Linked DNA regions of Homo sapiens: regions 2, 3, 4, 5 and 6 are each linked to region 1. Evidence: promoter capture Hi-C in 16 types of primary human blood cells and fetal thymus (Javierre and others, 2016). All regions are on one chromosome and are shown on one strand. Each heading gives the region's core, a stretch centred on a gene start or on the middle of the fragment in contact. The rest is flanking DNA. Distances are from core to core; before and after follow the strand shown. Region 1 holds the start of PHLDA2 (pleckstrin homology like domain family A member 2). Region 2 holds the start of KCNQ1 (potassium voltage-gated channel subfamily Q member 1). Region 3 overlaps KCNQ1 (potassium voltage-gated channel subfamily Q member 1). Region 4 overlaps KCNQ1 (potassium voltage-gated channel subfamily Q member 1). Region 5 overlaps KCNQ1 (potassium voltage-gated channel subfamily Q member 1). Region 6 overlaps KCNQ1 (potassium voltage-gated channel subfamily Q member 1).

The links. The method cuts DNA at HindIII sites, captures the fragments that hold promoters and counts their contacts. A CHiCAGO score of 5 or more calls a contact.
Region 2: the fragment with the promoter of KCNQ1 here is called in contact with the fragment with the promoter of PHLDA2 in region 1 in 6 of 17 cell types (neutrophils, non-activated CD4 T cells, naive CD4 T cells and 3 more); the score reaches 7.6 in neutrophils.
Region 3: a fragment that was not itself captured here is called in contact with the fragment with the promoter of PHLDA2 in region 1 in 7 of 17 cell types (total CD4 T cells, naive B cells, naive CD4 T cells and 4 more); the score reaches 7.1 in total CD4 T cells.
Region 4: a contact is called between a fragment that was not itself captured here and the fragment with the promoter of PHLDA2 in region 1, in 8 of 17 cell types (fetal thymus, total CD8 T cells, naive CD8 T cells and 5 more). The highest score is 7.9, in fetal thymus.
Region 5: a contact is called between a fragment that was not itself captured here and the fragment with the promoter of PHLDA2 in region 1, in 9 of 17 cell types (monocytes, total CD8 T cells, naive CD8 T cells and 6 more). The highest score is 10.0, in monocytes.
Region 6: a contact is called between a fragment that was not itself captured here and the fragment with the promoter of PHLDA2 in region 1, in 16 of 17 cell types (naive CD8 T cells, naive CD4 T cells, fetal thymus and 13 more). The highest score is 14.2, in naive CD8 T cells.

What each region holds. Positions count from the first base shown.
Region 1 is chr11:2,928,170-2,931,529 of GRCh38, reverse strand. PHLDA2 (pleckstrin homology like domain family A member 2) reads left to right here and starts at 2,110. Exons shown (of 2, transcript NM_003311.4): 1 at 2,110-2,634; 2 at 2,863-3,257. The coding sequence starts at 2,166. The coding sequence ends at 2,624. RefSeq lists enhancers at 1,006-1,614, 1,615-2,224, 2,225-2,833. The HindIII fragment of the contact is 14,179 bases long and covers 1-3,360 here.
Region 2 is chr11:2,443,378-2,446,737 of GRCh38, reverse strand. KCNQ1 (potassium voltage-gated channel subfamily Q member 1) reads right to left here and starts at 1,730. Exons shown (of 16, transcript NM_000218.3): 1 at 1,254-1,730. The coding sequence starts at 1,639. It overlaps TRPM5 (transient receptor potential cation channel subfamily M member 5), which reads left to right and starts at 2,224. Exons shown (of 29, transcript NM_014555.4): 1 at 2,224-2,307. RefSeq lists silencers at 1,741-1,810, 1,821-1,930. The HindIII fragment of the contact is 13,739 bases long and covers 1-3,360 here.
Region 3 is chr11:2,485,098-2,488,457 of GRCh38, reverse strand. The region is part of intron 1 of KCNQ1 (potassium voltage-gated channel subfamily Q member 1); the gene reads right to left. Among named protein-coding and RNA genes, the nearest start is that of KCNQ1, 42 kb to the right of the region's middle. The HindIII fragment of the contact is 277 bases long and covers 1,493-1,769 here.
Region 4 is chr11:2,505,593-2,508,952 of GRCh38, reverse strand. The region is part of intron 1 of KCNQ1 (potassium voltage-gated channel subfamily Q member 1); the gene reads right to left. Among named protein-coding and RNA genes, the nearest start is that of KCNQ1, 62 kb to the right of the region's middle. The HindIII fragment of the contact is 3,057 bases long and covers 582-3,360 here.
Region 5 is chr11:2,521,773-2,525,132 of GRCh38, reverse strand. The region is part of intron 1 of KCNQ1 (potassium voltage-gated channel subfamily Q member 1); the gene reads right to left. Among named protein-coding and RNA genes, the nearest start is that of KCNQ1, 78 kb to the right of the region's middle. The HindIII fragment of the contact is 1,173 bases long and covers 1,352-2,524 here.
Region 6 is chr11:2,547,390-2,550,749 of GRCh38, reverse strand. All of the region lies in intron 2 of KCNQ1 (potassium voltage-gated channel subfamily Q member 1), which reads right to left. Among named protein-coding and RNA genes, the nearest start is that of KCNQ1, 100 kb to the right of the region's middle. The HindIII fragment of the contact is 5,009 bases long and covers 1-3,360 here.

The sequences.
Region 1 (3,360 bases), core at 861-3,360:
TGGAATCTTCGAGGGCACGCCCTCCCCACAGAGTCCTCCAAGCTGTCCTCCTGGCCTCCAGTACCCCCGACCCCTATCCCCATCCTCATGTACCTGCTGTGCCCCTGGGGTTTAGAGGGATTCCTCTCCCCTCCTCTGGGGTCCCAGCACCAGCCAGGCCTGCAGGCACACAGTAGGTGCTTAAGCAACCACGAGTGTCGGGGGATTTGCCTGGAGCCGAAGTTCCACTGGCTGGCCCCTCAATGGGGTAGGCAGGCTGGTGGGCCTGGAGGTGTTCCAGGCACCTGTGGGCTGGCGCAGTGACAGAGCGCTCTGCCCCCGGCCGCTTCTCCTGGTCTCCCACTGCCCAGAGGTGCCTCTTGCCCAGGTCCCACTGTCCGGCAGCCCAGGGCCCTCTGGAAGCAAAAGAAGGGACACCAGAGTCCGAATCCTTCCTGCAGCCTCTCCGGAACAATGCTCGAATCCCCTCTCCCCGCCAAAGGCTGACCTCCCCTCACCCACCCACCCTACCTGCTGCTCCCTCACCACAGGATCCCAGCCCTGCTGCAAGGACAGGTGTCAGGTAGGGGGCAGTGTTGACCCGCCGGCCCCAGGCAGGTGTCTCACTCCCAGGCCAGAACCCTGGCACAGCCCAACCCTGCCCTCTGCCGGCACTGCCCCTCCACACCACATCCCTGCCCACTGCCAGGTCCTCTGGCCACACCGGTGGGACCACCGGGCAGCTGCTACCTGCATGCCATTCACAGAACCGGGTCTGGGGCGCTCCTCTGAGCCGGACGTCTCTTTATCCTTTACAGTGACCCTGAAGGGCAGGTGGAGGTAGGGCTGGTCCCAGGTCTGGGTTTTACGCTCTGCTGCCACTGTCTTGACATTTTAAATACATTTTGAATCAGGGGACTCTCGTTTTCATTTTGCGTGAGCCCCGTCATTGAGGCCAATTCTGACCCCAGAGTTGGGACTTCCTGCTGTAACCACCCCAGGGCGCAGCTAGGGGGCAGGGGTGCGGGAAGGTGGGAGACGTGGAGTAGTAGCCGGGGTCTCTGGGGTCCTCTCGGCCGGCTCCACCCCCACCCCTGGGAACCCGGGAAGAGCCGGCTTTCGCTTCCTGTCTATTAAACCCTTTAAAGGAAGAGGGTAAATAAAACCGCCCGTCTGCCCAGCTGGAAAGCGATGACTCAGCCGCCCCCGCCGACCCTCGCCCCCAGGCTGATCCCAGAGAGCGGGCGTCGCGGCCCAGCCCGAACCCCTCAGCTCCTGGGACCTCTCTCCGGTCCGGGTCGTGGGGGCGCGGTCGGAGCAGTCCGTACCCCAGTTCGGGACACTACGAGGGCGCAGGGAGGAGAACGGGCTTCCTCTTCCCCTTCCATTTTCTGAGCTCTATGGGTTGCTGGTCTAGCCCTTTCCACGTGTTCCCTAATCCAGCAAAGGTTACTGTTCCCATTTCACAGAAGCGAAAACCGAGGCTAAGAGAGGTGGTCGTTCTTGGCGCAGCCCGTGGGTGGCAAGATAGGAGCTCGGTCCGCTAGGGCAGGGCCACTTTCGGAGAGGGTCTCTGGGCGGCCCTGGGAAAGGCCCCCGAACAGGACGGAACGGCCAGGGCTCGGGAGTAAGGAAGGGGGCCTCGACCCTCCTTCTGCCCCGGGAGCCCGAGAGCGGCAGGGCTGGACTTGGGGCGCCTGGAGGGTGAAGGTCTGGTCCCGGCTGTCTCCCCACGGTGGGCCGGCCCCGGGCCCGCGGGTGCTTCCCGGGGCTCCCCGGCGTGAGTCATCGCGGGCAGGGCTGGCTGCAGCGCATTCTTCCGCGGGGCCGGCCTGCGAGACGGTGCGGGCGAGCGCCCGGGCGGGGCGGGACCTCGAGTCACCCCACGGGGCCGGACAGCTGGGGCACGGGGGGCAAGAGGAGCGCGGGCTTCTGAGATGGGAGGGGACGGCCGGGGACCGACCAGAGCGCGGACGCGACGGTGCGGGCCCGGACGGCTGGGCTTGGGGAGGGTATGGCCCGGGGCGCGCGGGGCTCAGGCGGGCGGGGTGGCCCGAGGGCCGGGGCGGGGCGGGGAGGGGCGGGGCGGGGAGGGGCAGCTATAAAGGCCGCGCCGGGGCCACGAGGAGCAGAGCCGGCGCCGTCACCGCCCGCATTGCCGCTCCCAGTCCCGCGCTCGGCACGACATGAAATCCCCCGACGAGGTGCTACGCGAGGGCGAGTTGGAGAAGCGCAGCGACAGCCTCTTCCAGCTATGGAAGAAGAAGCGCGGGGTGCTCACCTCCGACCGCCTGAGCCTGTTCCCCGCCAGCCCCCGCGCGCGCCCCAAGGAGCTGCGCTTCCACTCCATCCTCAAGGTGGACTGCGTGGAGCGCACGGGCAAGTACGTGTACTTCACCATCGTCACCACCGACCACAAGGAGATCGACTTCCGCTGCGCGGGCGAGAGCTGCTGGAACGCGGCCATCGCGCTGGCGCTCATCGATTTCCAGAACCGCCGCGCCCTGCAGGACTTTCGCAGCCGCCAGGAACGCACCGCACCCGCCGCACCCGCCGAGGACGCCGTGGCTGCCGCGGCCGCCGCACCCTCCGAGCCCTCGGAGCCCTCCAGGCCATCCCCGCAGCCCAAACCCCGCACGCCATGAGCCCGCCGCGGTGAGTGACTGCCCGCGTCCCGGCGAGCCCTGCGCCCTAACAGCCGGGACCGGGGCCTTTGGGAAAAACCACTTCAACCCCAGACGGCGGGGCGGGGGCGCTGCACCTCCTTGGGGGACCCGGCGCCCCGCAATCGCGCTGGCCCCCTCGCGTCAGGGTCTCGGGGCCCCTCAGGCTGGACCCGGACCGGCCCTGGCACAGCTCTCTGACCCAGTCCTTTCCCCACAGGGCCATACGCTGGACGAGTCGGACCGAGGCTAGGACGTGGCCGGCGCTCTCCAGCCCTGCAGCAGAAGAACTTCCCGTGCGCGCGGATCCTCGCTCCGTTGCACGGGCGCCTTAAGTTATTGGACTATCTAATATCTATGTATTTATTTCGCTGGTTCTTTGTAGTCACATATTTTATAGTCTTAATATCTTGTTTTTGCATCACTGTGCCCATTGCAAATAAATCACTTGGCCAGTTTGCTTTTCTACCATCCGGCTGTGGCTCAGTGAGACTCCTGCTGGGAGGGTGGAGGCCCAGGAATGGGCGGGCAGGACACCCTCATCCAGTCCTGCGGGGCTGGTGTGAAAGGCGCTGGGAACCGGCTTTGAATGAATAAATGAATCGTGTCATCTGCTGGGCCTGGTCCACACCCTCTTTTCCAAGCAGCCTCCCCAGAGGCCAGGAAGTGCCCTGGGGCTTGACCCTGGCTACCTTCTGCTCCTTGGTGTGTCCTGAGG
Region 2 (3,360 bases), core at 481-2,980, 480 kb after region 1:
GTCTCCAAGATCACCCCCCAACCACATCTTTGAGGAGGGAGGTGGGTAAGACTTCCCCTTCCTGATGTGGAAGGCCACCTCTTAGCAAGGAAGGCAGTAGCCCTGCGACCCCTACCCCACCCCCTCACCTGAGACGATGCTTGAAGCCATTTGGGGCCTGGCTCCTGCTGTCACCCGCCCTGAGGCCCTGGTGGCAGCTGCCAGCAGGCATGGACAGGCCTCTGGATGCCCTCCAGCCAGTTCTCTACTGAGCCTGCCCGAGGCAGAGGAGATGCTTCCACCTGAGGACGCTCAGGGAGACCACCCTTCAGCCCTCAGGTGAGCCCCACAGCCATCAGCCATGGGATGTCTGGGTAGAGGCTCCCAGGCCAGAGGCTGGCACCACACCAAAAGGCCGCTGGCTGGGCAGCCAGGAAGTAGGGCCACTGGGGCAGCGGGGGAAGGCCCCAGGCAGGCATGGAGGAGAGCAGCCTGGACCTTCCCGGAGGTGACTTCCCAGGCCTGTCCCTGAGAAATCCAGTGCCCAGCCCTGCTCAGGCACGCTGTACCGGGAATTGGAACCACCTGGTAACAGGGGGGCCAGGTGCCTCTGCTACCAGCGCTGCTTTCTCCGGGAGCACAGCTGCCTCTTAGTGAGAGCTGCAAACGTGCCTCTCCGCTCTCTGCATCAAGCCAGGTTTTCATGAGCTTGGTTCAATTAGTTAATGTGGGGCCCGTGGGGACGGCCCGTGGCATGCTGAGCCCTCAGGGAGCACCGCCACCGTCACCTTCCTATCCTGGACAGCCCCCTGCCCCAGAGTCCACCTGGGCCTCAGGGGGTCTGAGATGCGGCACCGGACATCAGGGGCCTTCTCTCTTGGGGGCTCCTGAGCCTCGAGTCTCAGCCGACCTTGAGGAGTTATCTTACTGCACCCAAGGGTGCGCTCCCCAGCACGCTTCTCTTCCCAGAAGGATTCACACCTGGACTACCCTCCCGGAGGTGTGGAGCCAAATTCTGGGCTCCAGGTGGTCCCCTCCCCAGCCGGCTCCCTCCCCACGCCGGGCCTGCGAGAAGATGCGCACCCCCAGACACAGCAGCGCCTCTGAACTTCAAGGGAGAGTGCAGAGTTTGTGTTTCTGCGTTTCCCCACTTCCTTCCCTCCTCTGCTCCGGGGTCGCAGCTCCGACGGGGCAGGTGGCGCTGGGACAGAGCTCCCCCACACCAGCTCTCAGGAAGCACCTTCGTGCCGGCCGTCGCCGGTGGCGATACTCACACGGCGAAGTGGTAAACGAAGCATTTCCAGCCGGTGGGACGCTCGAGGAAGTTGTAGACGCGGCCCTGGACGTGGGTGCGCGCCAACACCGGGCGGCGCGTGCTGTAGATGGAGACGCGCGGGTCTAGGCTCACCGGCGGCCGCGGGCCAAGGTCGGAGGCAACTGGGGGCGCGGCGGGCGCGGCCGGGGACGCAGGGGGCGCGGGACCTGGGGCGCCGGGCGCGATGGGCGCGTAGAGCGCGCCGCCCGCCGGGCCGCCCTCCGCCAGCTCCAGCGAGAAGGGGCACTTCTTGGCCAGGCCCGCGCTGCCCCGCCGGGCGCCTGGCAGGCGGCCCCAACCCCAGCGCTTCCTCTCGGCCCTGGGCGGGGAGGAGGCCGCGGCCATAACGAGGAGGGCCTGCCGGGGGGCCGGCCCGAGCGGCGGCACCGGGAGCTGCAGCGAAGGCGAGCGCCCGGGCGCAGTGCGGGCAGCCACTGCTGCCAGCCCCGCCGCGGGGGGCCGCTGCCGGCCCAGCCCGGGCGCTCGGGGCGGGGCCGGAGGGGGCAGTGGCCGAGGGCCGGTCCCATGGGACGGCGTGCCCCGCCCCCGCCTGCACGCCCCGCCCCCGCCGGTCCGGCGCGCACAGGGCGTCCCTGCCCGCGCCCACCGGCTTGGCCCGCCCTCTCCCCACGGACCGGCCTGGCCCTGCCTCCGCCTCACCCCCTGGCTTGGCCTGTCCGCGCCCCCGCCCCCGCCTGCGCCCCCGCCCCCACCCCCACCCCCGCCCGAGCCCACCTGCTTAGCCCCGCTCGTGTCATCTATCCCGCTTGGCCCCGCCCCCTCCTCGCCCACCTGTTTGGCCCCGTTCCAGTGTGCATTTACCCCGCCTGGCCCCGCCCCCTCCCCGCCCACCTGCTTGGCCCCGCCCTCACCCACCTGCTTGGCCCCGCCCCGTCTGCATCTCCCCTGCTTGCTCCTGCCCTGCCCTCACCCACCTGCTTGGCCCCCACTTCTGATGCCCGCCTGCTCTGCCTGGCCCGGAGGAGGACCCCAGCTGCGCCAGGGAGGAAGGGGTAAGGCCTGGCCGATACCACGACCGAGAACGGCACAGCGGGGGCAGGAGGGGCGGGGTAGGGTGCCGGCATCTACTTTCCCTCCCTCTGAGCCACTCCGGAGTTGGGGTTGGGGGGAGGAAAGGGATGTCCTGGGTGAGGGTGTGCTGGCCCCGCGATCACTGTGAGCGCCCCCGGGTGCCCAGGCGCGCGAGCTGCGGGCGGCGAATACGCTCGGGTCGCTTCCCACCAGGGCCCTTGGACCGGGAGGGTGAGATGGGACCACCACTGTCAGGTACCTCCCAGTGGGAGCTGTGTGGGTGGGGAGCCGGCAGGGCTGCTGGGGGGTGGGGGCGGCACAGCCGGGGTCTGGACCTGGTTTGACTGCCGGGCATAGCAGGCGGGGCTGCCTGGGCAGTTAAAGGGAGAGGCGCTTGCGCCACCCTAGTAACTTGGAGAATGGGCGCCTTGTCCTCCCCACCGTCGAGACCGCGCTGCCGCTGCGCCCCGTGGATTCCCCTGGGTGGGGGTGGGTTGGTCACATCGGAAGATTTTCACAGGTCTCTGCACTGCCTCCCGCCCGCTACTGGCATTTGGGTCTCAGCACGTCTCAGGCTTGGGGGGGGGGTGGGGGGCAGCCAACAGAAGAGACCGGCTTTTTTCAGGATACTGCACACAGCCCTGAGGCAGGGACTAAAGGTGGAGCTCAGCGGTGACTCTCCGCCCCGCCAGGAGACCCATAACTCATGTGACACTTCCAGGTCGTCCCTGAGCACCCTGGGTCAATTTGATGTATCTACCACCCCCTGCCAAAAGTCTGCTCTTTTATCGTGGACGGAGTCCAGCCCAGGCCCTTGACGCCTGACTCCCCACCCTAGTGAGGTGCCACACAGGAGTGCACAGTCTGTATTTGCAGCAAGAGTGGATGGAGTGGGTCCCAGCTTGTGCTGGGCGCTGTGATAACACAAGGGAGGCCGAGGAGAGGGTACCTTCCTGGGAAGCATATCAGTGAAGGTGCAGAAGGGCAGCGGGTCAGAAGATGGGGGCAGTCAGTCAGCTCTGCAGGGCACACAG
Region 3 (3,360 bases), core at 382-2,881, 440 kb after region 1:
TCCTACCAAATATTTAAAGAATAAACTCCCATCCTTCTCAATCTTTCCCAAAAAATTAAAGAGGAGGGGAAAGGTTTCTAACTCATTCTATGAGGAGAGCATTACTCTGATACTAAAGCCAGACAAAGACTACAAGAAAACTACAGACCAATATCCCTTATGAAAACTGATGCAAAATTCTCAACAAAATAGCAAACTGAGTTCAGAAACATAGTTAAAGTATTACATATCATGACCATGTGAGATTTAGTCCTGGAATGCAAGGATGGTTCAACATACAAAAATAAATCCATGTAAAAGAGCATATTAACAGAATGAAGAAATAACACTCACATGATCACATGATCTCAATTGATACAAAAAGCATTTGACAAAATTCAACATCCTTATTAAAAACTCTCAACAAACTAGGAATAGAAGGAAACTACCTTAACATAATAAAAACCATATGTGAAAATCCACAGCTAACATCATAATGATGAGACTGAAATTTTTCCCTCTAAGGTCAGGAATAAGGCCAGGGTGACCACTTTCACCACTTCTATTCAACATTGTACTGAAAATTCTAGCCAGAGCAATTTGGCAAGAAAAAAATTAAAAGAAATAAAAGGCATCCAGAATGGAAAAAAAAGACGTAAAACTATTTCTATTCACAGATAACATAATCTCATATGTAGAAACCCCTAAAGATTCCACAAAAACTTATTAGAGCTAATAAATGAAGTCAGCAAAGTTACAGAATCTAAGGTAAACATGCAAAATCAGTTGCATTTCTATATGCTAACAATGAACAATCTAAAAATGAAATTAAGAAAACAATTTAATTTATAATAGCATCAAGTAGAATACTTAGGAATTAACTTAACCAAGGAGGTAAAAGACTTCTGCAGCAAAACCCACAAAACATTACTGAAAGAAACTTAAAAAGATGCAAATAAATGGAAACATATCCCATGTTCATGGATTAGAAGACAATGTTGAGATATCAATACTACCCAAAGTGATTTATAGATTCAGTGCAATCCCTCTCAAAATCCCAATGACACTTTTTGCAAAAATAGAAAAACCCATCCTAAAATTCATATGGAATCTCAAGGAACTTAAAATAGCCAAAAGCAATATTGAAAAAGAAAAGCCAAGCTGGAAGCCTAACACTTTCTGATTTCAAAACTTTACTATAAACTTACAGTAATCAAGACAGTGTGACACAGGCAAAAAGACAGACATATAAACCAATGGAACATGAGACAGCCCAGAAATAAACCGTGGCATAAATGGTTAAATGATTTTTGACTAGGGTTCCAAGACTATTCAATGAGAAAAGGACTGTCTTTTCAACAAATGGTGCTGGGAAAACTGGAAATCCACATGCAAGAGGGAAGCTGGACCCTTACTTCACACCATATACAAAAATTAACTCAAAATGGATCAAATATCTAAATGTGCAACGTAAAACTATAAAAATCTTAGAAGAAAACATAGGGCAAAAGCTTCATGACATTGGATTTGGCTATGATTTCTTGGATATAACATTGATAGAGTTCAGATATTTGTCCCCTCCAACTCTCATGTTGAAATGTGATCCCCAGCGTTGGAGGTGGGGCCTGGTGGGTGCTGTTTGGGTCATAGGGGCAGATTCCCCATGATTAGGTAATGAGTTCATGCAAGATCTGGTTGTTAAAAGGAGACTGGAACCTCCTTTCTCTTGCTCCCTGTCTCATCATATGAGACACCTACTCCCGCTTCACCTTCTGCCGTGATTGGAAGCTTCCTGAGGCTCTCGCCAGAAGCAGGTGCTGGCACCATGTTTCTTGTACAGCCTGCAGAACCATAAGCCAATTAAACCTCTTTTCTTTATAAATTACCAGCCTCAGGTATTCCTTTATAGCAATGCTAAATGGACTAACACAAAGACCAAAGGCACAGGCAACAAAACAAAAAGTAGACAACTTGGACTTCGTGAACATTAAAAATTTTTGTACAAAGACACTATCAACGGAGTAAAAAGGCACCCCACAGAATGAGAGAAAATATTTGCAAATCCTATATCTGATAAGGGATTAATATCCAGAATATATAGAGAAGTTCTAAAACTCAACAGCAAAAACAAACCTCTCAATTTAATGAAGTGGGCAAAAGAGCTGAGGAGATATTCTCCAAAGAAGATATACAAATGGCTAATAAGAGCATGAAAAGATACTCAACATCACTACTCATAAGAAAATGTAAATCAAAACTATAATGAGATACCACTGCACACCCACTAGAATGGCTACTATTAAAAAACCCCAGAAATTACAAGTGTTGGTGAGGATGTGGTAGCTACTGTGGAAAACGGCATAGTGGTTCCTCAAGAAATTAAAACTATAATTACCATATAATCCAGAAATTCCACTTCTGGGTATATACCCAAAAGAATTGAAAGCAGGGCGTTGAAAAGATATTTGTACACCCATATTCATAGTAGCATTATTCACAATAGCTAAAACATGGAGGCAACCCAAATGTTCATCAAAAGATGAATGGATAAGCAAAATGTGGTCTATCCATACAGTGGAATATTATTCAGCCTTGAAAAGGAAAAGGAAATTCTGACACATGCTACAGCATGAGTGAACTTTCAGGACATTATGCCCAAGTGAAATAAGCCAGTCACAAAAGACAAATAGAGTACTCAATGATCCCACTTTTATGAAGTTCCTGGATTAGTCAAATCCATAGGGACGAAAGGTAAATGGTAGGTGCCAGGGGCTGGGGAAGAGAGAATGGGGGAGTTGGTGTTTAATGGGGATGGAGTTTCAGTTTGGGAGGATGAGAAAATTCTAGAAATGGATGGTGGTGATGGTTGCATAACAAAATCAATGTACTTCATGCCACTGAACTGTGTGCTTAAAAATAGTTAAAATGGTAAATTTTGCATTAGTGTATCTTACCGCAATTAAAGATCTACAAGAGTATTGATAGTGTGCTTCCCTTTTTGTAAGAAAGAGGGGATACAGGAAAACACACGTGTATTTTCTCATCTGTGCGAGAGGCCTGCAAGAGAGACATGAAAGGCTGAAGAGCTGGTTTTGTCCAGGGTGGGGGGGTGGGGGATGGAGTGGGGAGGGAAGGGCTGGCAGGGTGGGCGCCTGGCTCTCCTCTGAGGACACTCTTTGTGCACCTCTGACTCCAGGAGTCACAGCAGCTTTACATTCCCTTCACACAGACCCCCAGATAAGTAACTAAAAACAATCAGAATCGGGGGACACCCAAAATGGAATACCAACCTAACAGATAAATCTAAACATGTCACAGATGAATGACATAATCACACTGAAGGGAGTACAGAAGTAAAGAAATACTCAAAGTCACCGTGGG
Region 4 (3,360 bases), core at 861-3,360, 420 kb after region 1:
GCTGGAGCTCTACATTCTTCGTTTGCCTCTGTGACTGTAGGGTGCCCTCCAGTGCCCACAAGGGCCAGGCTGTGTGCATCAGGCACATGGGTGTGGAGGGAGCATGCATTCAACTGTGACTTTCCTTAGCCCTCCTCAAGCCTGTATGAGAGCAGGGGAATTGATGGCTTTCTTCCTAAAAAGCTTAGTTCAACAGTCTTTCCCATCCCTCCCATTCGGGGAGTTTCTATAGAGGAAGCCAGGTGGTCACTGCCATCTTCAAGGATTCCCTGGGGGTCTCTGAGCAACAACAGGATATCTGGGTCACCCACACCCTCTGTGCTCTGAGAAGCCCACCTGCTAGTCTGGGAGTCTGGGTCCTGGTGGGTCCCAGCCCCGTACATGGAGGCTGGGACCCTGCCCCGAAACCTCTCAGGTGCGAACACCCAGCTGGTTATATCATCACCCTCTCTGCATGACAGATGGGACACTCCACTCAGGACCCACACTCCTCCCCATGCAGAGCAGCCAGGCCTCGGGAGCTGTGTCCTGACCTGAGGTGCAGTGTCCAGGGCACTGTCTGGACAGTGCTCCCCAAAGCTTGCCCTGCCAAGCCCAGGTTCCAGGACAATGATGGGCTCCTGGCCTAAAGTCTTTCCAAGACATATCTCCGCCGGGTAACGGCAAGTCAGACAAGCCAGTATGGTCCCCACAGGAGCCCAAAGACCCTTGGTGACCACCATGGGTTGGTGGAGGTTGTGGTACCTCAAACATGCATGCCTAGTGTTTGCAAACCTCACCTTCAGCAGCAGCATCCCTGGGAAACCCCAGCTCCACTGCCGTGGGGCCAAGGCAACACAGACCCCTGCTGGGGCCCAGGCCAGCTCTGTGGGGCCGAGCTGGGTGTTTGTGTCTGAGAGGTTTCAGGGCAGGGTCCCAGCCTCCATGTACGGGGCTGGGACCCACCAGGACCCAGACTCCCACATACGTGTGTGGAATAAAACTCATAACCCCACATCACCAAGTCAAGGCCAGTTCCAAAACCTCTCAGGAGGGCTCAACACAGAGTCCTTTGTTCTTCCTCCATTGCCCCTGTGGAGGCTGCAGGACACCCAACCTCCCGGACTTGCCTTCCTTGCCCTCAGCCTCCACAGCTGCCATCACTTGGCCCTTGCCCTCTGCCCTTCCACCCACCCAGGCTACAGGAGGCCCTGTCTAGCCCCTGCGCTCATGTCATTTACACACTGACACCTCCCCTAACTTGTGAGCCCAGCCCGCACTCTCTCCCCAGAGCTCCCACCTGCAGGTCTTACTGCCTTCAACCCACCTCACCTGGCTGCCTCACAAACACCTCCAAAATAACATGTCCCCAGCTGGACTCCTTCGCCCCAACCCTGACCCATGTCAGAAACAGAAAGTGCATCCTCCCAGGTGCGAGGGGTCCCAGCAGCATCCTTTTCTCTTCCTCCCGCTGCACCCGCCACCTTATCTACCTGCAAACCCTGTTTTCTACAGCAGTGGTCCTGACTTCTCACCCTTCCTTCAAACCCTCTAGAGCAAACCACGCCGTCCCATCCCACAGCCACCTCAGTCACAGCCTCCTGCGCATCTCGTGTCCTGCCCGATGACCCCACACTCCATGCTCCACTTAGAGGCCAGAGGGGCCTCGTGAAGGCCCCAGCCAGTGGGGTGAACTTCTAAGGAAGAGGTCTCAGGCCACTCTCTGAGAAAAGATTACCTTAGATCATGCACAAGAGCAAACTCCAAACGGACAAGGAGCTAAATGCTGAAGACAAGACCCCAAACCTCCAGAAGAAAACACAGTGGATTCCCCTTAACCTCGGTGGAGGAAAAAGCTCTCAACTGTGGCCCTGAATCCGGAGTCAGTAGAAAGAAGCATGATAAATTTGATGATATAAACATGCGAAATTTCTCATAGCAAAAAGCACCATAAGCAAAGTCAAAGACAAGTGACCAGCTGGGAAAACAATTCACATTAGTCCAGACAAACGTTCCCACAATATAAATGACTTAAAAATTGAGAGACCAAGAACCAAAAACCCAATGGAAGAAGTTGGAAATGAGAAGACAGACGATTTACAAATACACACACACATGACTTTTAGACACAGGGAAAACATTCAAATTCAATGTAATTACAGAAATACAGATTAAAACAAAGCTATGGACCTGGCAAAAAGTGGTGTGACAGCACGCTGCTGGCGCAACTGTAGAAAAAACCGGTATGCTCATGCATTGCTGGGGGAGTGCAAATGTGCAACCGTTCTGCAGGGAAATTTGGTCACATCCAACAAAACTACGGGCTTCTCTTTCAGCCCAACACTCCCATTTCTAGGAATCTACCCTGAAGATAACACCTCCAACAATAGGAACATCCATACCTACGAAGTTATTCTTTGCAACATTGTTTCAAGAATACAATAGACATATGTATAAGGCTATACTTTGCAACATTATTTATCATTGCACAATATCAGAACAACCTAAATGCCCATAAATAGGAGAGGGTTTGAATAAGCATGGCACATCCAACCATAAAGTATGGGGTGGCTGTAAAAAAGAATATGGAAGGACCCCACGAACTGATATGTAGTGGTCTCTAGGAAATACTATTACGTGAGAAAAGCAAATTCAAAAAGTTCACGTATAGTCTTTTCGACAAATGATGGTGGGATAACTGAGTATCTACATGCAAAAGAATAAAGCTGGATATAAAAAATTAACTCAATATGGGTCAAAGGTATAAATGTAAGACCTAAAGCAATAGGAACACATAGGAGAAAATAGAAAGACTTTGGATTTGAGGATGATTTCTTGAATACGACATTGAAGGCACAGGCTCCGGTGAACAGTGCCGCAGTAAACGTAGGAGTGCGCATCTGTCCCTGCTGGACTGATTTTCTTTCTTTTTGGATATATAACTAGCAGTGGGATTGCTGGATCACAGGGGCTAAGCACGTGGACAAATTAAATTTTATGAAAATGTAAAGTCTGTATATCAAAAGGTGATATCGGCAGTGGCAGAATAGATAAACATGATCCAGCTACATGCTGTCTACTAGAGACTCGCGTTAGAGCCAAAGACACAAAAAGATTGAAAGTGAAAGGGTGGAAAGAGTGGAGAAAGAGGTTCCATGCAAATGGCAAACACAAAAAGCAGAGTGGCTACACTAACATCAGCCAAAAATGGTTTTATAATAAACCTAGAAAGGTCACAAGAGACAAAAGAGGACGCTGCACACTTAAAGGTTCGAGGCTGCAAGAAGATGTTACAGATAACCATTATAAACATTTATGCCTCTAACAGCTAACGATCAAAAGACACAAAGGAAAAATTTACAGAACCGAAGGGAGAAATAG
Region 5 (3,360 bases), core at 689-3,188, 410 kb after region 1:
TCCCCACACCCTGCAGCCCCCAGGGCTGGGCTGGGTCTCTGCCCCTTGCTGGTGCAACTGTTGGCTCTCTCCACCCTACCAGGGCTCCCTCCGCCATGACTGCCACACTTAATCCTCCTGGACGTCTGTTTGTTTTGATTTGCAGTGAGCAGGGAAGTGAGATTAGACACAGCCTGGCTCAGCCACGAGGAAGCAGAGCCGGGCTGCCCGGGGCAGAAGATGCCACCTGCCTGCTCCCCAGGCCCACGGCGTGCAGAGAGGGCCAGGGCACCATCTGCACATGGAGATGCAGTGCCCACTGGTGACCCAGGCAGCTCCCCTGCCTCAGTTTCCTTATCAACACAAAGAAGTGGCCCACAGGTGCTTCTTCCCAGGCTGTGGAGGGAAGTGTCACCTGACGTCCAGCAGGGAATCAGCAGCGAGCGTCGACTTCACCCTGAGGCCTTGGATAAGCCGGAAGCTGCCAGTGCTGTCTACTGCAAAGATGTGGCAAAACCCACCACCCACCAGGGGCCCTGGGAAGGATCCACTAAGTTGCTGTCTGTTCAGCAACAGGAAGTGCTCCTGGGGACTGCAGGCCACTGCCCGCTACCCACGCCCCTGCTCACTGACCACTGGCCCAGCCAGTGCTTTGCAGACAGTAACACAGACCCCCACGAGACCCTGCCAGACTGTGACATCACTGCCACACTATCATCAAACACATGCTACAAGTAGGGAAACTGAGGCTCCAAGGGCTTCTGAGGTCACAATTGGGGTAAACTGAGGAGGAGACACAGGACTGCAGCCTGGTTCCCTGACCCGGCATGGCTGGGGTCCCTGGAGGCTGGGCCCTGGGCCCCTTTGACCCTCGGTATGAGACGACTTGCCAGGCTCTGGTCTTGGTGCACGTGAGCAGGGATAGGGCTGCGGTGAGGGTGGCACAGCAGCTTTCCCGTCGCCGAGCCTGGCTTCCATCCTCCCGTCTCTTCCTCCAACTCAGATCCTCCTGCTTCTCTTAGAAGAATCCTCACAATCACAGTGAGGGCTCACCCGGGTAACCCAGGACAACCTCCCCTCTCACGAGCCATCCCTCAGTCACCCTGCAAAGCCCCTTTGGCCACACAACCTAACTTGTTCACAGGACAAGGACACAGACACCTCAGGGGCCACCGTTCAGCCAAGCGACAGCCATGTCTGCGAGTCATGCACCCGAATCCACGCCACTGCCCCAGCCTCTCAGTGACCTGCACGGAAGGCGCTGCACTCCCCCCACTCTCAGATGAGCAAATGGAGGCCTGAGGAGGGAAGGGGGCCATGGGCAGGACCCAGGTCTGCTGACCCTGCAGCCTCCAGGCCCAGGTTGAAAGCTTTAAACTTTCAAAAAAAAAAAAAAAAAAAACTGTAAACTTCCTCCAAGGCAGAGGCGAGCGAACAGAATTACCTGCAGCTCCTCTGCCCTTCACAGGGGCACCGTGATGCAATGTGGAAGCTGAGATAACCCCACTTCACAGCTGCCCTTCTAAAAGACCACAGGCGACGCTGCCTTCTGCATCTGCCATCACGGCTTTTCGATTCTCGTGCTGTTTGGGTGACAGCCGTCCATCACAGTGGCAGTTGGTGACCTCGGCCACAGCATAGAAAGCAGTGGTGGGGCCGGGCGCGGCGGCTCACACCTGCAATCCCAGCACTTTGGGAGGCCGAGGCGGGAGGATTGCCTGAGGACAGGAGTTCGAGACCAGTCTGGCCAACATGGTGAAACCCCGTCTCTACTAAAAATATGAAAAAATTAACTGGGCGTGGGTGGTGGTGTGCTCCTGTAATCCCAGCCACTCAGGAGATTGAGGCAGGGGGATTGCTTGAACCAGGGAGGTGGAGGTTGCAGTGAGCCGAGATCGCGCCACTGCACTCCAGCCTGGGTGACAGAGCAAGACTCCACCACAAAAAAAAAAAAATTAAATTAAATTAAAAAAGAAAGCAGTGATGGATGCTGGTTAGCACCATGTGCAGGGTGGGCACTCACAGGCCGCAGGTGAGGGCTTGAAAACTTGGTGACTGGCTGCAAATACCACGCGCCTGGGCTTCATGGCGCGGATTCCAGCTGCAGGGGCCTCTCCTGCCCATGTCCTGTGCTCAGGAGACACAGCTGGCTCAGATATGTGGAGTTACTGCAGCAGGAAGATTCTTGACTGGGCGTTGCGGGAGAATACAGGATGTGGCCAGGGAAGACTGCACATGGGTGGTCCTGGACCAGCCCCCACAGAGTGTGCACCCAAGTGGGCGTCCACCCCAACTACCTGGGCAGAGGTGCCTGGGAAAGTCCCGTGCAGTGGAATCGCGGCTGAGGCAGAAGACAGGGCTCCAGGCCCGGGGGTTGGGAGCCAGCAGGGGCTGAGGAACGTTCCCCCGCAGGCCAGGCAGATGGTGGGGACAGGTGCCCATGGGCCAGGCTGGCTGTCAGCCTTGCCATATTCTGAAGGCTAAATGATTCTTCCGATATTTTGATATACCGTGCTAGCCTCAGAAGGAATTATATGACAAAGCTTACTTTTATCTACTCCAGATAAAAAGAGTTTTATCTTATTTACCGCTTTATCTATTCTTGTCTCGGGCGGAGCTGGGAACCTCACAGGTGCCGAGCTGGGGTCCCTGCCCTTGAGGCACTCAGGGCCTGGGGTGCCTGTGTCCCCTCCTGCCTCTGCAGGGCCACCTACCACCCCCTCTGCCTCAGCTCCAAGGCCAGGCAGTCACAGCCCCCCACTCTGCAGAGCCGGGAAACTAAGGCCCTGGGAGAGGACGAATCCTATGCGTGTTTTGGACTCGGAGTGGGAAGCAGGACAGGCTAGCGAAGGGGTGGGGGAGAGAAGACACCGACCCCCCCCCAGCTCATGTGGTCCCCTGAATGCTGTCCCACCCGAGCTCCCAAGAGGGCGTGGTCATGCGGGGGGCGGGGAGCTGCATGAGCGGGGAGCCCACCGCACCCCAGAAAACAACCTCCTACTTGTTCCCCTTGACAGCAAATAGGCCTCAGGAGCAGTGACGGCGAGTACCAGCCCCGAAGGCACCCGGTGAATTATCCGACATCATTTCAACATCTCAGCCCCGGGTGCCCGGGAACACAGGAGAATGCAGGAACCCTGCCAGGGTCATAGCCCGAGACGCTGTGGGAGGGCTCCCCCGGGGTGCAGGCAGCGGGCCTGGGTGGGCTCCACGGCTCAGATGGCCTGGGGCTAACGCGAGCTGAAGGCTGGAGACTCCATGACCTGCCCTGCCGCACACACTAGGGCCCCTGAGTGGTGCTCCTAAATGGGCCTGGTTGATCCAGGTGACCCGCCAAGCAAATCCAGTCCGGGTGGGGGCTGTGCCGGGACTCTGGCCTTC
Region 6 (3,360 bases), core at 225-2,724, 380 kb after region 1:
CTGAGCCTGGTGCTGCCCTGCCCTTCCTGTGAGGCTCCTTCCAGAAGCCCCTGACCCTACATCAGCCGGGACACCATCTCTGTTGGCCCTCAACTCGCCACCCCAGCACCCTTCATTCACCTGCTCAGGGAGGCGCCCCCTCTTCCGGTCACTCAGCTCACGTGTTGGCATTTGTTCCCCTACCCTGCCTGGCACTCTGGCCTAGGCGAGGATGCATGTCAGGCATCAGCTCCCAGGGCGGGCAGTGCCCTTGGCTGCTTTCCAGCTCCGGGGCCCGCGCATGGAGCTGCCTAGGGAGGAACATGGGTGTCTGGGCCACTGCGACGCTCCCAGAACGTGGGCTTCTCCCACCTTCTACCTATGCCTTTTCATTCAACCCCCAGAGGGACCCTAGCAGGGGGTGTGAGGGGTGACGGCAAGGATGCAGATGCTGCAGTGTGTCGGAAATCCAGGCGCCGCGCCACGGCTCTGCAACTGCAAAGACCCTCTCACCCCGTGATCAGAAAAGTTCAAACTCCAGGCACACGGCCCAGTCCCGGCAACGGCAAAGAGAGGCGGGGGAGGGACGTGCACTGCCTGCGGGATGTCCATCCAGGCCGGGGCTCGGCAGCTCTGGTTCTCTACAGACAACTCTGAGCATCTCTCATCTGAGCTCCGCAAAGACATACAGATACATCCACACCCAGACCTGCACATTGGGGTCCAGTTCTGGGGTCCGTCCCTCTCGAGGCCCAAACAGTCCCCTGCACCCTGGCCTCCCCGTCTCTGGGTCTACTGGAGGTGGAGCTGGCTCCCTTCCTGCTCCTCTACGCGGCTCGCGCTGGGTGGCGGGGGCGGTGGGCAAGGAGCCGGAACCCCCAGATTGAGTGGTGCAGAAGGAAAAGCCAGGGAGGGGTGTCCTGCCCAGGGGTCTCTCCGCCACCCAGGGCCAGTCATGGGGAAGGAGGCGCATAGGGGCCTGGGGTACTCATGACTGGGGGCCACGTGCTGCTGCTCACGTCCACTGCCCCCCAGGCACCCCCACACCAGGCCTGGGGAGCCCAGGGCCACCCATGCAGAACACAAAACGCCTCTTGTTCCCACCCCAGGTGCTTGGGAGGAGGAGGCCCCCCCACGCCCCTACCCCGGGCCTCGCAGAGCAGTCACTGGAAGTGTCCCAGCTGTGCTATGAGCAGGTCACGAGGCTCCACAACAGGACCTGCCCACGCCGGGACACCCGGTGACACTCCACTCCCTCTGCTTTTGCAGCCCCCGGGGGACCCTCCTCGAGGGCCCCATGTCTTCTGGGTTCCATCGCTTTGAGGTAGAAAATCTGAGGCCTCAAACTGCCCCCAAAGCAGGCAAAGGTCAGATGTGTGGAGAGAGGATGGCGAGGATGGCAAGGACGGCCAAGGAGGGTCGCCCCAGGTGCCTGGACCCAGGTTTGTCCCGCACCCCGCACCCTGGCCCACATGTCTTCCTTCCCCATAGCCCCACCCCAGCATCCTGGCACCAGTGGGCTCCTGGTGGCACTGGCTGGATGCTGTAGCCTGCTGATGGCCACTAGCACGTGCTGGGGACCTAAAGCCACATGGTTGAGACATCATCATTTGCTCCACAACCCCCTAGCCTGGCTTCTCAGATCTCAGCCTGCCCCCTCTCCACCCAGCCACTCTCCCTTGGGTGGAAGCTGGATGTACTCTAGAACCCACCCTGGAGACAGCCCCTGGGATGAAGAAACCAGGTCGTGTCCGGGCCCCAGCACCTGTCACCAAACATCCTCCAAAGTGAGGATTTTTCAGTCACAGGGGCTCAGGAGGGCTGGGGCAGTGGTAGTCGGGGGACAGTAGGGCCCCTTTATTCCCGCCAGACAGGTCCTCACTTTACCCCAAAGTCGACAATGGCGAACTTCTCCTCAGACACCCACCCACCTGGGCCAAGTCAGGCTGTGTGTCTGTGTGTGTACGTGCGTGGGCATTTGTGCACAGCCTAAGCACCCCCAGGCCACCGCCAGAGCCCAACACCGTGTGTGCACACGCATAAACACACAAACCTGGTGCTATCTGAGATGCAAGAAGAAGATGTCACCTTGAAGTGGGTCACTGTATCCAACAGCCCCACACGCACCTATGAAACCGCCTTAAGAAACTTTTCACTAAGGGCTTGGCGGGCTCCTGAGATGTCTTAGCAGAATGTAGCGGTTTGCAGACACGTAAACGTGTCCCCCCACCCCCAGAGCTTAGGACACTCCACCTACACCTACAAGGCTGAGAAAGGGAATATAAACTGCTATGGAAAAATTATAGTTATACCGGAATTTTTCTTTGTTCGCTATGAAATCTTTCAAATAAGTCAGAATACAGCAACTAACCTGACCGATTATACGCATGGATATTCCCATCCCATGTTCTGCTGTATTTTCTTCTGCCACGCTTGATTCAGACTTTGAGAAACAAAATCCAAGGGAAGCAGCAAAAGACGTTCCCAGTCTACCTCCCTGGACGAAGCCACCATCTTTCCACCTACGTTTCTGTGCTCACACGACTCGTGCAATCAGGACAAACACGCATGACCCTGGGACCTCGGGTCTGAGCTGCCACTGCTTAGAGACCTGCCTGCCGCCACCTTATCCTGGGCCTGGCCTCTACCAGTCAGAGGGGCGGCGTTAAGTCTGAGTCACACCATGCCAGGCCCCAGGCTCCTGTCATGCAGAGCGAAACCCTAACTCCCCAGAGTCGCCCCAAGCCCTCACACGCCAGGTCCTGCCACCTCCCTGACCTCATCCCCCACCGCTCCCTGCTCCCCTGTCTCTGAATGCTACAGGCTCCTCACAGCTCCCTCCACCCGCGCCAGGCACACGCCCCATCCGGGTCTTGGCACGTGCCATGCTCTCTGCCAGGAATGCTTGACCCTGAAACCCCAACATCTGGACCTTCACCTCCATACAGAGACTCGCAGCCCGGCCGCTCCACTGAGAACTGCCGCCCCTCCCCTTCCATGCCACTCACCATTTCTTACCCGCGAAGTAGTCAGTAGTCCACCCAAGGTTGTGGGGGTCTGAACTTATAAAAGATGGAAATGGAGTCAGCTTATTGTTTGTGGTATAGGCACTAAGTAGAAGTTAAGGCAGATTAATAAAAACGGTAAGCCAGACAGTAAAGGGTTAAATGAGAAACCAGGGACCAAGGAAACTTTGAAAGGCATATGTATAAAGGTAACTATTAGGACAAAAATACAGGCTGGGCACGGTGGCTCATGCCTGTGATCCCAGCACTTTGGGAGGCTGAGGCGGGCAGATGACTTGAGGTCAGGAGTTCAAGACCAGCCTGGCCAAAATGGTGAAACGCCGTCTCTACTAATAATACAAAAAAAATTAGCCAG